Regions from separate parts of the Homo sapiens genome. Here regions 1 and 3 are each linked to region 2. Evidence: promoter capture Hi-C in 16 types of primary human blood cells and fetal thymus (Javierre and others, 2016). All regions are on one chromosome and are shown on one strand. The core of a region is centred on a gene start or on the middle of the fragment in contact, and the rest is flanking DNA. Distances in the headings are between cores, read along the strand shown. Region 1 overlaps ICE1 (interactor of little elongation complex ELL subunit 1). Region 2 holds the start of DNAJC21 (DnaJ heat shock protein family (Hsp40) member C21). Region 3 holds the start of MED10 (mediator complex subunit 10).

The links. Contacts are between HindIII fragments. The CHiCAGO score rates a contact against its expected background, and 5 or more counts as called.
Region 1: a contact is called between a fragment that was not itself captured here and the fragment with the promoter of DNAJC21 in region 2, in 1 of 17 cell types (neutrophils). The highest score is 12.9, in neutrophils.
Region 3: a contact is called between the fragment with the promoter of MED10 here and the fragment with the promoter of DNAJC21 in region 2, in 1 of 17 cell types (non-activated CD4 T cells). The highest score is 5.1, in non-activated CD4 T cells.

The regions. Positions count from the first base shown.
Region 1 is chr5:5,426,390-5,429,089 of GRCh38, forward strand. All of the region lies in intron 1 of ICE1 (interactor of little elongation complex ELL subunit 1), which reads left to right. Among named protein-coding and RNA genes, the nearest start is that of ICE1, 5.1 kb to the left of the region's middle. The HindIII fragment of the contact is 2,607 bases long and covers 75-2,681 here.
Region 2 is chr5:34,928,230-34,930,929 of GRCh38, forward strand. It overlaps DNAJC21 (DnaJ heat shock protein family (Hsp40) member C21), which reads left to right and starts at 1,330. Exons shown (of 12, transcript NM_001012339.3): 1 at 1,330-1,687. The coding sequence starts at 1,591. It overlaps LOC124900961 (a long non-coding RNA gene), which reads right to left and starts at 1,452. Exons shown (of 2, transcript XR_007058731.1): 1 at 1,420-1,452; 2 at 1-904. RefSeq lists silencers at 1,006-1,475, 1,486-1,555, 1,586-1,785 and enhancers at 1,814-2,459, 1,926-2,095. The HindIII fragment of the contact is 5,598 bases long and covers 245-2,700 here.
Region 3 is chr5:6,377,203-6,379,902 of GRCh38, forward strand. MED10 (mediator complex subunit 10) reads right to left here and starts at 1,345. Exons shown (of 4, transcript NM_032286.3): 1 at 1,160-1,345; 2 at 1-47. The coding sequence starts at 1,281. RefSeq lists enhancers at 1,080-1,289, 1,580-1,799. The HindIII fragment of the contact is 6,030 bases long and covers 1-2,700 here.

The DNA of each region.
Region 1 (2,700 bases), core at 128-2,627, about 30 Mb before region 2:
AGCCGAGATGGTGCCACCACTGCACTCCAGCCTGGGTGACAGAGCAAGACTCCGTCTCAAAAAAAAAAAAAAAAAGCTTATTTGACAGAAGGGAGGTGTGAGGATAGGAAAATGGGGCATTATGTTCTGTCACTTAAAGGAATCTTTGAAACCATGAGGCCAATTCATGGGATTACATGCTATCATTAGAGTCAGTGACGGAAAACCAACTAGCTGATGTGTGGCCTTTGATGAAGGGGAACATGGAATGGTGAGGAAAGGAGAAACAGATAAAGTATGTTAGAGGGTTAAACAGGGAGTGCGTTCCAGAGGGAATCAAGAGTTCCAGAGGGAACCAAGATCGGAAAGAATGAGAATTAAGGAAAAGCAATTCTTTTGGTCAATTAGTAGATAACCGCTTTTTGGAAATAATTTTCGCATGTATTATAACTACGTGAAGTTCCATATTTCAATTAAACTTTCGTGTGAGAGAGAAACTAAAGAGGTACAGAGAGAAGATATTCTGTGCTATAGTTTTAACTTTTTGATCATGCAGAGAATTTACAAGTGTAACATAGGAGTCAGTCTTTCCAATGGTAGGCAACCATATTGGTGTTGTGACTTCATTCTGAACTGTAATGTTAGGCTAACTTGCCTCTCTGTCTTGAATAGTGGTTTGCTTGCACTGAAAATCTTCCTTTCATTTCTTAATCCTCCCTGTCCTTTTTTTCTTTAGTTGTTGAAGAGATAACAGTACCTTTGCAGAGATCATTATTTGATTCAGAAGTGTGCAGATTGACTACATTTTCTGTGTCTTTTGCTCGTAGTCTCACAAATCACTTCATATCTGTTTTGTTACGCTCATTGATTACAGTAGTTCATTGCTGATCCATAGCCCAATGCCCAAAGTTCTGGGTTGCAGAACTTTGGCAGTCAGATATAACAGTGTGGGTCCTCACTCTAGTCATATTATGTATTATGTATGGTTAAGTAAAGTCTTAAGTTGTGTGTGTTTAAGTCAAGCTAGTGAAGCTGACATAGTCTCTTTATTCTGATGAAGGAGAGGCCCATATTTGCTGACTTCACTGCAGTGCAAAACAGTTGGATTCTCCTGGGGATCCAGATGAGAGTTTGAAACACATGATTATATTGTTCATCTCATGTATCTAGATTAGATTCAGTGAGTTTGATGTATGGTTGTCCTTGGAACAGATTTGAGCCTGTCCATAAACTTGTGCTGGACTCCCATTGATAATCGCTAGTGATTTAAGTGTCATCGTTTGGAACTTGAAACATTTTATTCCAGACCTATTGATTTAGAAATGGTTCTTTTACAAGGAATGCTTACAAAATTGTAATTCATTCATTTGCCAAACACATTTATTGAGCTTCGATGTATATATGATGCTATCCTGTGTTTCAGAATACAATGATGAACAGAAGAGGCATGGAGCTCATTCTTGTTGAGGTTACAGTTAAGTAGAAAAGCAACCACAGTATAGGTATAATATAAATATTATGGTAAGGGACATATGAGGTACTCTGGGAGCATGTAGGAGGGACAGTTATATAGGAATTGTGCCACCTCTCTGAAGGCTTCATAAAAGTGAATCTAAATTGAGGTCTGAAAGATGATTTGCAGTTAACTAAGAGGGAAAAGATGGAGGGAGAGTGTTGTAGACAGAACAAGTTGTGCCAAGGCCTGGAGGGGAGAAAGTAGTTGACGATAGATGAAGCACAGAGTAAAGGTGGGGATAACTGAGGTGGGGCTGGAGAGACTGGGGTTTGCCTTCCCAGCACCCAGAAGCCACTCTGCTTGGTTTTGGTGGGTGGGTGTGGTTGGGGCACAGTTAGAGAGAGGTGGACATTCCTGCCTTGTTGCCCTGTTCCAGTCCACGCTGTGCCAGAGGTTTTAACAGGTGAGAAGACACACTCATCTCTGCTAGATATCAGTGTAGGCTTTGATTTTAAATAAGAGCAGTTAGTAAACAGCAAGCACACCAGGAATAAGTGGTTTATCAGAGAGGAGTCATGCTGAACAATTAGCCAGATCTCTCCCAGCAAAGCAATAAATGTGAGTAGTGTGATTTTTAAAAATAATTTATTTTGAAATAATTTCAGACTTACAATAAAGTTGCCACAATAATACAAATAACCCTGATGTTCTCAAATTCACAAATTGTTAACATGTTATTGCATTTGCTTCATCATTGTCTGCACACATACACTTTGTCTCCTGTACATGTTCCAGGGTATACTTCCTCCAGATATGAACGTTTTCCAACATAATTACCCTACACCCCTCCAAATCAGGATAGTAACATTGGTGCAGCTGTAGACCTATTCAGATTTTGCTTGCTGGCCTGGGAGTGGCTTTTTGCTTTCTTACTCAAAGTCATGTCAGGAATATGTGTTATATTTTATTGTAATGTCTCTTCAGCCTCCTTCATTTAGTCTTTGTCTTTCATGTTTGTGAAAGTTTAAACAGCAGAGCCTTGCATTCCTCAGCGAACGTTTTACTACTTCTGAAGACATTTTTGATTGTCAGTGTTGGAGTCCCTAAGACCATGCTCATGTTCAGTACTCATAGGACTTAGCATATAGTTATACTCATGGCTGTGGTTTCTTACAGGGAAAGCATACAGAGTGAAGTCAGTAAAGGGAAAAGGCATATGGGGCAAAGTCTGGGGAAATCAGGCACAAGCTTCTGAGAGTGTTTCC
Region 2 (2,700 bases), core at 80-2,579:
AATACTTTCCCTTTCCGTTTTTTTTTTTTTTTTTGTCCCTCCCTTCCCCCCGCCCACCATCCCAATTCTGTTCTCAGGAGGGGAAAGGTTTCATTCTCCCCCAAACTCAGACTTCTCAATCCTTATCCATTACCAATTTACCAACTAACTGAGACTGTGTAGAATCTTCCTCTGGAAAAAAGGGAAGTGTATGAATTCTGAGTAGTGAGTTGGTTGGTCAGTGGCGTGTGAAGTAACCTGATGAAGCTTAGCGTGGGTTTTTTATTTTACTGGGGGCAGCATATTGGGGAAGAGAAGGATAACCTTACTAAACCGCTTGGGTACGCCAACCCTGTGCAATAGATATTAGCAACATAGCTAACCATACATGGTTAGTAAATACAACCCACACCTAACTGATGCATGTAAACATTCCACATTACAGTGAAATATATTGGTGTATTAATGCATTTTAATAATTATGGTATTATTTTGATACCTTTCAAAGTGTTTGGAATAATTGTGCAGATAGTCAGATCAACCAAAACCTACCAGTTAAATACTATCCTTTAACTGCTTTCTTAACCTAAACCAATCTTGGAAAGGTAGGATTAGAGGCCAGAAAGTTAGGATTAAAGTGTGTTGGATGGATAGATCAGCACAATTTCATCCATGTTGGTGGTAAGGCTTTTCATTAAGTGTGTTGATGCTTCCCTTTTAAATTGTTTCCGCTTAAATAATCTAACTGTCCTTTCTCAAGCATATTGGTCAAGATGATCAATACCAGATATCTTAAGTGGCAGCTGAAGAGAATTAAAGAGATTAAAAAAAAAACCTGATATTCAGTCCAACCGAATTCTGCTACTGTATTAGCTGAGGAGGCTTGAGCCAACCACTTGACCACTTGGAGTCTGAATCGCCTTATCTATAAAAACGGGGATCCATTGAGAAATTATAATCAGATATTTTCCAGAATCCTCTCCCATCCCAGCTCCTATCTCCCCCTTCAGCCCTCAGGTCGGCTGCCACTCACACTGACCGCCATCTGTGCCCCTCACAATGACACCAGCGTGGCCCTGCCTCCCTTCCGCGCGGCCCCGCCTCTCGCCCCGCCGAGGCCCCGCCTCTCACACCAAGGTCCCGCCTTCCTCCTGTTCTTCCCGGCCAAGGCCTACCTTCCTCCCACGCGGCCCGCCTCTTTCCCCGCCAAGCTCCCGCCTTTCTCCTGCGCGGCCCGCCTCTCTCCTCGCCAAGGCCCCGCCTTCCTTCCTCGGGGCCTCGCCTCTCACCCCGCCGAGGCCCCACCCCCTCCCGCGCGGCCCTTTCCGGCACAGAGCCCACCCCTAGCCCATGCGAAGCGGCGGCCGCCGGCACCGCCCCCGCCGCGCTCCCGCTTGCCGCAGCCTGCGTCGTCTGCCGCCACCGCGCGCCTTCACTGACCTACACCACCGCCGCCGCCGCCGCCGCCGCCGGGCTCGCTGGCTGGCCCGGTGCGGGCGGCGGACTCCCGCCGGAGAGGACTGCCAGCGCCGCCGCCGCCGCCGCTTCGGCCCGGGCCCGGGCCCCGACCCCGTCCCGGGCCCCAGCGCCGGCCGCCCGCCCGGTCGGGCGATGAAGTGTCACTATGAGGCGCTGGGGGTGCGGCGCGACGCCAGCGAGGAGGAGCTCAAGAAGGCCTATCGGAAGCTGGCCCTGAAATGGCACCCGGGTAAGTACCTGTCCCGCAGCCCCCGCGGCCACTCGGAGAAGCCCGGCCCTCCCCGACCTTCCCTTCCCCCGGGCGGACTCCGCGGAGCCAGCAGAGAGGGACCTGGCGGCCTAGGAGCTCCTTGCCCCGCCCGGCCAGTGCCCGGAGCCGCCCTGCCCGTCTCGGTGGGCGAAGCGCTCTGCCCTGGCGCACCCCGGCTCACACCCCATCTCCTCATACCCGCGACCCCGGCCCCGCATCGCCACTGTAGGGGGAAAACTGCAGTCCAACAACCTCACTTGCTCCCGCTACCGGGTCGCAGACACCACGAGGGAGCAGTCGGGAACTCGGAACTCAGACCTGCCCCAGGCTTGCTTTTCCCTGCGTCCCTTGCAGCGCAGCCTCTCGGTGTTTTTCCTCCGCTGCCCTCCACCTCGTCCGGGAATCCCAGATACTTCAACCTGATGTATGGCTCTTTTCGTTTCTTAGTTAAGAAGTTAAGACACGGGAGCTAGTAAAATATCTTTTCAATAGGGATGCGCTTTTTTCGCTGTTTTTTTTTTCTTTTAATAAGCTGTTTAAGCAGACCTTGTACTTCACTTTGGACATGATTCTGCCGGGGAAGGTTTTAATCAGGCGGCTTCCCCAGTAAAGTTTGTATGTTTACTTAGAAGTATCCTTCCTTTGGATGTTTCATTGGTCTGTAATCCAGGCCTGTGTGACTTTTATGAAGTAATCTGATCTTCCAGGCTGGGAAACTAAGAGAGTAGTTGACTTTCAGCTTTTTGAGGTTCATATGAAGAGGCTTTCATATTAGCATTCATCAGTAAACACGGTTACAGAGTATCCAATATATGCAAGTCACTGCACTCTACTAAGTAGATTTGGAAATGCTGAGACAGGGGTCTTAGAGTCTTGTTAGGAAAACAACTTTCTGCCTTACACAAATGAAAAGTTAAATACAACTGCCAGAAAAAAATCGCAACATACATAATTGGTGGTTAGATTAATGGAACAACTAATATATGCTCCAG
Region 3 (2,700 bases), core at 95-2,594, about 29 Mb before region 2:
GCTGTCTGCACTTGTCAATATCCTGTAAGCCAGTAACAATAAAATTCCTGGGGGAAAGGCAAACACACAGGCATCTGGTTAATTTCGCTTGACAGCATAAGCACCACCCACAGAGCTACCCAGCCAACCGGGGCTCCACGCAAGTTCGTTCTCCTCACAGCTATGCGGGTTACACACGGTTCTGACCTCTTTGGTTAGCTACAGGATTCCTAGGACACCGTTAGAGTTACAAAATACCCTTAAATATTTGTTACTTTCCTTCTCAACTAGAAATTGCCAGTAAGGGGGATGGAGAGGGAACCTGATGAAAAATATGAACCTTCTCTCAAAAACAATTACCTGACTGTGCATATGACTGTGTGTGCGGTTTCAGCGAACACATGAGGCAGCGGACTATACTCAAAGTCTGAGGGAAAGAAAGCCATACTGTCTGGTTTAGCTTCCTCTCCTCTCTGGAGCCTTCCTACAGCATCAGGCTGGTCTGGCTATTCCCACAGCACTAGGTATGGAACCTCGAGTGCAACATTTTCTATGTCCGTGCCACATATAAAGCCCTTCTCGAAAGTGCTGTACTTGCATTTGCCTTTTCTCCAACCCAGGGCCTAGCAACATGGGCAGCACAAGGCTGTTGCCAAGAAATAATAATAATAAACGTTCTGCAACCTTTCTCAGCACCACCTCCCCGCTATTTCCTCCACTGTCAGGCCTATGCGGCAGGTGGCTTCGGAGCCTCACCTTCTGAGGCCTAGTTTAGGGCGTGCACTCACTGTGGAGCCTGCCTCCCCTCTGGAGACAGGGACTGAATTCCCAGAAGGGCTCCAGGAGGAAAAGGCTGGGAGGGGGTTACACATGAGAGGGGAGACGCTAGAAGAGAAAGCATGATTCCCTTGATAGGGAAACGTAAAGTATATCATCTGGCCATGACGACGTCTCCAAAGGGGCCTCAAAGAGGTTGGCTCTTGGCAACAGGCTGGAGCGCGGGCCCCGCCCTCTGAACACAGCCAGGAAAGGCGCCCCGGGCTCCGGGACCAGACCAGAGGGCTGGCGGGGCACGAGTAGCGGTCAGGCTCGGCTCGGGCTCCCTAGATCCCCGCTCCCCTAGCACACGCTTCCCGGCCAGGCCCTGGGGAGACCCCGGCAGCCTCGGGCCGCCACTCACAGCTTTTGGTTGAGCCCGGCCTGGCTGCTGGGCTGGAAGTCACTGACGATGATGCCGAGCTGCCGAATGTTCTCCACGAACTTCTCCAGGTGCTCCTCTAGGTGGTCAAACTTCTCCGCCATCGCCTCGGCCCGTCCCCGACCCACACAGCCTCAACCAGCAGCGCCGCAGGCGTGGCCCTACGCTCCCGCTTCCTGCTTCCGTCCGGACAGATACGACTTCCGTTTCCTCTGGGGGAGCGCGGGCGAGCTCTTGGGGGCGGAGCCTCGTTATCGGGACGGGCGTGTTGGGGCGGGGCCTAAGTGCGGGGCAGGGCGGGCTTTCGGGGATGCGGTCTGGATTCTGGAGGAGGCCTCGGCGCGCAGCTGGGCGAGTACTAACTGTTTGCACTCTCATCAGACCTGCCTCGGTCATGGGAGAAGTTGAAGACTTTCTGCAATGCAGCATCTTCAAGCAATACACACATGGATGAAAATCCTAAAGTTTGCATGAAGGACCAATAACGGTAGTTTCCCTGCCCCTCTACCAGAACCCCTGGGATCAGCGCCTGCCTGCCTCCTTTCTTCTATGTAATCGGCGGCCACCTCCCCTAGCTCTTGCTGCTAACCATGCTTCCCGGACACCTGCTGCCTTCGTAGGTCAGGGTCTCACCTCCTCGGGCCAATTCTGACCAAACAGCACCCTGTGGGGTTGCCCTGTCTTAGTAAACTGCTGTTTATCTCATTGAAATTCAGTTTAGGTCATTTCACTCTTATGTTTAAGAAACTTTTCTGCCCGATCTCCTATGATAGCGGATATCTCCTCTAGCCTGTTTGAATTTCTCAAGTGATTTATTTTACTGAATATATTTGTGGCCTGTACTTTTCAGTGCCTAGAAACAGGCAAAGTGAGGGAGCTCCTTTGCTAGATGATCTTCAGAGCCTCTCCCAGCTGTGACCAGAAATGGAAAGCCAGAGAAGGTAAGTGACTTGCCAAACTTATGGAATCAGGGCACTCCAGTTGGTGGGCTGGGCTGATAAACAGAAATGTTACATAAAATACTTCTCTCCTGATTTAACAACAATTAACTTTAGGGAATTATAAAACAAGATGGAGGCTGGGCGTGGTGGCTCAGGCCTGTAATCCCAGAACTTTGGAAGGCCAAGGCAGGTGGATTACCTGAGGTGAGGAGTTCGAGACCGACCTGACCAATATGGAGAAACCCTGTCTCTACTAAAAATACAAAAATTAGTCAGACATGGTGGTGTGCGCCTGTAGTCCCAGCTACTTGGGAGGCTGAGACAGGAGAATTGCTTGAACCCAGGAGGCAGAGGTTGCAGTAAGCCGAGATCATGCCACTGCACTCCAGCCTGGGCAACAGAGCAAGACTCAAAAAAAAAAAAAAAAGGTGGAAATAAAATATTAGACAAATAAAAAATTTTAAGTTATTAGGTAGAGGTAGCGACATGGAGTGAACGGCCTTTCTCAATTTCATAAGTAAGAAAGATAGATAATTGATGGAACTTAGGCTTTGGTAAGTATTTATTTTAAAAATTTAAGGG